Linked DNA regions of Homo sapiens: region 1 is linked to region 2. Evidence: promoter capture Hi-C in 16 types of primary human blood cells and fetal thymus (Javierre and others, 2016). All regions are on one chromosome and are shown on one strand. The core of a region is centred on a gene start or on the middle of the fragment in contact, and the rest is flanking DNA. Distances in the headings are between cores, read along the strand shown.

Region 1 (2,749 bases), core at 149-2,648, 280 kb before region 2:
TGATAGTGGATGTGTAGGAGAAAAGACTCCAACTAGGTGGGCATGTAGCCTTTTTTTTAAATTCTTTTTTTTTTTTTCCCATAAAAATGGTAGACAACCCAAGGCTTGCAGCCTTTAGCAGAGTGTCTGGAAGAAGAGATGGCCAAACTCTGGTGGGCTTATTTTTCCAGGTATCGGGAGCATTGTCCTGCCGGGCAGCCTGTGAAAGTGAGGGTCTCCTACCAGAAGCTGCTTAAGTACTATGTGCTGAATGCCCTGAAGCATCGGCCCCCTAAGGCTCAAAAGAAGAGGTAAGGTGCCCCAGGGGCCCTGCGCAGACTTCTGTTCCAGAGATATCAGTAGGCTGACTCTTACTCTCCATGTTCCCACCTCAGGTATTTGTTCCGCTCCTTCAAAGCCACCAAATTCTTTCAGTCCACAAAGCTGGACTGGGTGGAGGTTGGGCTCCAGGTTTGCCGCCAGGGCTACAACATGCTCAACCTTCTCATTCACCGCAAAAACCTCAACTACCTGCACCTGGACTACAACTTCAACCTCAAGCCTGTGAAAACGCTCACCACCAAGGTGCCTGCATTGGACCCTAGGGGCCTCCTGGGCTTCAAGGACGGACAGTTGTTTTCCTCTGGTTACTGATGAAGGCATACATCAGTTGGGTCCATTGCTCATTCACGTTCTGTCTGTTTTTTGCATCTTCTCCAGGAAAGAAAGAAATCTCGTTTTGGGAATGCTTTCCACCTGTGTCGGGAAGTTCTGCGTTTGACTAAGCTGGTGGTGGATAGTCACGTGCAGTATCGGCTGGGCAATGTGGATGCCTTCCAGGTAAGGTTAGGTATTCCCAACCCCTGCCTGGGTGAGGACGCTGGAGGAAGCCTGTGCTGACCGTGGAGCTGGTTTAAGCTCCAGGTCTGATGGGGCAATTGTATTGCAGCTGGCAGATGGATTGCAGTATATATTTGCCCATGTTGGGCAGTTGACGGGCATGTATCGATACAAATACAAGCTGATGCGACAGATTCGCATGTGCAAGGACCTGAAGCATCTCATCTATTATCGTTTCAACACGGTGAGACCTTGACTTTACTGACTTTCTTTTTTTTGAGACAGAGTCTTACTCTTGTCTCTTGGGCTGGTGTGCAATGGCACGATCTTGGCTCACTGCAACCTCCGCCTCCTGAGTTCAAGCAATTCTCCTGCCTCAGCCTCCCGAGTAGCTGGGATTACAGGTGCCCGCCACCACGCCTGGCAATTTTTTTTTTGTTTTGTTTTGAAACTGAGTCTTTCTCTGTTGCCCCAGCTGGAGTACAATGGCACGATCTTGGCTCACCACAGCCTCCGCCTCCCGGGTTGAAGTGATTCTCCTGCTTCAGCCTCCCAAGTAGCTGGGACTACAGGCGCGCACCACCATGCCTGGCTAGTTTTTGAAATTTTAGTAGAGATGGGGTTTCACTGTATTGGCCAGGCTGGTCTTGAACTCCTGACCTCAGGTGATCCACACTCCTCGGCCTCCCAAAGTACTGGGATTACCAGCGTGAGTCACCGTGCCCAGCCTCACTGGACTTAACTTTCTCAGATCTTTTTTCATGTATACATTTAGACAGGGCTCTTTCCAGGGACCTATTTGGAGAGCAGCTATGACTGTGTCCTTACTGCTCCTTTAAATTCACATGGGCGATCTTAGTTCCTGGTTTTTGCCTTAAGGTTTCTCATTTACCCTTTTGTTTTAGATGTTGAGGTCCCAGAGTTTTTTTTTCTTTTTACCCCTCTACTGCCATACCTACATTCCTCTGTATGTATATTATACATATATGCCCCACCTCTGCCCAGGTTTCTATTGTTGTTTAAATGCATTGCTAACTTGTATTCTTAACTTCTGCTTGGGATCGTAGGGCCCTGTAGGGAAGGGTCCTGGCTGTGGCTTCTGGGCTGCCGGTTGGCGAGTCTGGCTCTTTTTCATGCGTGGCATTACCCCTTTATTAGAGCGATGGCTTGGCAACCTCCTGGCCCGGCAGTTTGAAGGTGAGTGGTTTTCTCTGTGTCCAACTTCTCCTGTTATTGCTTCAAAAGTACCTGCCCCTGTTTGAGTCTGTTCCCTGCTCTTGTATGAGCACTCTTCCTACTGGATTGCCTTTAGGTCCAGTTCTGAAATGAGTCTGACCTAGTATTCTATTTCTTGGGCTTCCTTCTGGGGCCTTGAGAGGCAGTCATGCATTTGCAGGAGTGGAAATTCCTCAGAAGCATAGTTGTGAATGTTTAAGGTAGCTCGTCTTTTTGCATATGCTGGGCACAGGGACGCTTTGTTAATACCTAATTTTATTAATAACCATAATGAGTGAGGAGCATGAAGGTAGAGACCCTTATTGAAAGCAAGGAATCTTCCTTGTAATCCCCTTGGGACACTCTACTTCCAGGTCGACACTCAAAGGGGGTGGCAAAGACAGTAACAAAGCAGCGAGTGGAGTCACATTTTGACCTTGAGCTGCGGGCAGCTGTGATGCATGATATTCTGGACATGATGCCTGAGGGGATCAAGCAGAACAAGGCCCGGACAATCCTGCAGCACCTCAGTGAAGCCTGGCGCTGCTGGAAAGCCAACATTCCCTGGAAGGTGGGTGTCTCTTTATTTCCTTGGAGGCGTAAACATCCGTCTTTAGGGTAGGATTACCACTTCGGGAATCATTAGGGGGCTATCTGGCTCCAATCTCTTTTCTTTTCCCTTTTAGACAGGGAAAAGAAGCACCATGTTGCTTAG
Region 2 (2,700 bases), core at 73-2,572:
AAAGTTGAGGCGTGAAAACTGGAGCTCCCCTGTCCCTGACAACTGTAACAGGGCCCAGTTCGTTTTTTTTCTTTTTCTTTGTTTTGAGACAGAGTTGTGCTCTTGTTGCCCAGGCTGGAGTGCAATGGTGTGCTCTCGGTTCACTGCACCCTCCCACTCCCGGGTTCAAGCGATTCTCCTGCCTCAGCCTCTGGAGTAGCTGGGATTACAGGCATGCACCACCACGCCCAGCTAATTTTTGTATATATATATAATTTTTCTTTTGAAACACAGTCTCACACTGTCGCCTGGGCTGGAGTGCAATGGGAGGATCTCGGCTCACTGTAACCTCCGCCTCCCGGGTTCAAGAGATTCTCCTGCCTCAGCCTCCTGAGTAGCTGGGATGACAGGCATGCACCACCATGCCAAGCTAATTTTTTGTATTTTTAGTAGAGACGGGGTTTCACTATATTGGCCAGGCTGGTCTCGAACTCCTGACCTTGTGATCCTCCCGCCTTGGCCTCCCAAAGTGCTGGGATGACAGGCATGAGCCGCCGCGCCCGGCCAGGGCCCGGTTCGTTACCCTGAGTCTAAAAGTGTCTGAAAAAGGCCCATGACCAGGCTTGGCCGAGAAAACTAGGACGTGGGCTGGGCGCGGTGGCTCACCCCTGGAATCCCAGCGCTTTGGGAGGCCGAGGGGGGGCGGATCATCTGAGGTCGGGAGTTCGAGACCAGCCTGGCCAACATGGTGAAACCCCATCTCTATTAAAAATACAAAAGCTGGGGGTGGTGGCGGGGGCCTGAAATCCCAGCTACTCGAGAGGCTGAGGCAGCAGAATCACTTGAACCCGGGAAGGCGGACGTTGTGGTAACCCGAGATCGCACCACTGCACTCCAGCCTGGGGAACAAGAGGGAAACTCCGTCTCAAAAAGAAAAAAGAAAAAAGAAAAAAGAAAAGAAAACCAGGGCGCGGTAGTGACAGCCTCAGATTTCGGGAAAGAAGACCTGCCATGACAGAAACCGTTACAGCCTCCGTCGTTCTTTTCCGCAGGTCGGGCCTCGGGCCCCGGTCTGACCCAGGTCTCTCGCTGGCTTTTTTCAGGAGCAGTCCCGGCCGGCCCCGCCTCAGCCCTTCTCGTTCCCCGGGGGCCGCTCCCTTTCGGCAGTCGCAGTTCCCGCCTCTGGGCTCCGGCGCCCGCTGAGCCGACAGAGGAGAGGCGTCTCGTGCGCTCGTTCCAGCCGCTTCGGGCGCCGAGTTCCAGGACCCGCCCCCCGCGCCAGTTGCCAGGGAGCGGTTGCCATAGAGCTGAGCAGTTGTCCGCGTGCGCAGGCGGAAGTCCCGGATTGAGGCGCCGCCATTTTTGCTGCCCGGACGCGGAGCGAGAGGCTGAGAGAGTCGGAGACACTATCCGCTTCCATCCGTCGCGCAGACCCTGCCGGAGCCGCTGCCGCTATGGATGATCGAGAGGATCTGGTGTACCAGGCGAAGCTGGCCGAGCAGGCTGAGCGATACGACGGTGAGTTGGGGGGGCAACGGGGGGCTGGAATTCTCGGACCCTCTGCCGCCGCCCACAGAGGCCGGGAACAGGAGACAAAATGGCGGCATCGTCTGCGAGCCTGGCCCGGGGGCTTGGGTTCGGGAAGCAGGAAATGGCCTGGGAGCTCCCGGGGCGATGGGAGGCTCTATGCCCTGGAATGTGACCCCTTCGCCGTCCTTAACTGCAAACAACTCGCGGGCCGGGAGGCCGGGGCGACGGGGTGGAGGAGTTGGTTGTAAAATGGCGGCTGGGGGGAGGGCGAGTCCCGGGGCGGGGGAGGGGGAGGAGATGGCGGGTGCTGTCTCCGAACGAGCCACCCTCATGGGAGCTTCTGGGACGGCCTTGGGATGTGGAGAACAATTGGGTGGGGTGACGGGGGAAGCAGCACCCGCCACATGGGAGAGAGCGAAGACCGGGAGCTGTAGCGCGGGCGCCTTTCAGGGAAATATGGCGGGTGGGGGCGGTGGCTTTTCCCCGGAGGCCCCGTGTGGGGCGGCGGCCGTGGAGTCTCACAAAGGAGGACCTTTGAGAGCGATGGGCTTCCTCAGGCCTGAGGTGGGGGACAGTCGTGGATGATGGTGGGGGGAGAGGGGTGAGTGGGAATCACTGCAGTTCGTCTTCGGGCGGTGGCAGGCTCCCATGCTGCGATCGGGTTTCTTTCCCGTAGGCCGGCACCTCGTAGTGAGGGGTTTCGGGGCTTTTCCTCCTCGTCGTCTTCTGGGGAGGCCCAGAAAATCCTCACTCCCTCCCTTTCCTCAGACTTAAAACAGGAGATCTCGAAGTTCCTGTAACCTTTCTCTGGCTCCATCACCCGTGGGTTCTGATGGATAGAACCAGGAGGCCACGACTCTGAGAGTTCGAGCCTTTGTAGAGCCCGAGCCTCCGTCCCCCCGTTTGTAAAAACGATGACTTTACAGTTTGTGCGCACCGTGATGACAAATGGGAAGACCTGTTGAAATAAAGTTATTTCCAATAGTGTTCAGTAACTGTATTTTGGTTGACTCTGCAGGCTCGGAATGCTGGTCTGTACTTCGTGGGGGATCTTAACCTATTCCAGGCGCTCGGCTGAGGCTGGGTTTTTTGAGTTATGAAGGTTGAAGATCCTGTTGCTTTCTTTTTTTCCGTTTTAAATAAATGGGTTTATGTAGAAATATTAGTAGGTCCTCTTTGTTCGTTGTTCTT

The links. The method cuts DNA at HindIII sites, captures the fragments that hold promoters and counts their contacts. A CHiCAGO score of 5 or more calls a contact.
Region 1: a fragment that was not itself captured here is called in contact with the fragment with the promoter of YWHAE in region 2 in 1 of 17 cell types (neutrophils); the score reaches 5.6 in neutrophils.

The regions. Positions count from the first base shown.
Region 1 is chr17:1,676,832-1,679,580 of GRCh38, reverse strand. It overlaps PRPF8 (pre-mRNA processing factor 8), which reads left to right. Exons shown (of 43, transcript NM_006445.4): 10 at 171-290; 11 at 375-564; 12 at 700-819; 13 at 929-1,063; 14 at 1,887-2,016; 15 at 2,409-2,605. Among named protein-coding and RNA genes, the nearest start is that of PRPF8, 6.7 kb to the left of the region's middle. The HindIII fragment of the contact is 3,942 bases long and covers 1-2,749 here.
Region 2 is chr17:1,398,844-1,401,543 of GRCh38, reverse strand. YWHAE (tyrosine 3-monooxygenase/tryptophan 5-monooxygenase activation protein epsilon) reads left to right here and starts at 1,322. Exons shown (of 6, transcript NM_006761.5): 1 at 1,322-1,497. The coding sequence starts at 1,434. RefSeq lists enhancers at 824-1,461, 1,462-2,099, 2,100-2,700. The HindIII fragment of the contact is 7,246 bases long and covers 1-2,700 here.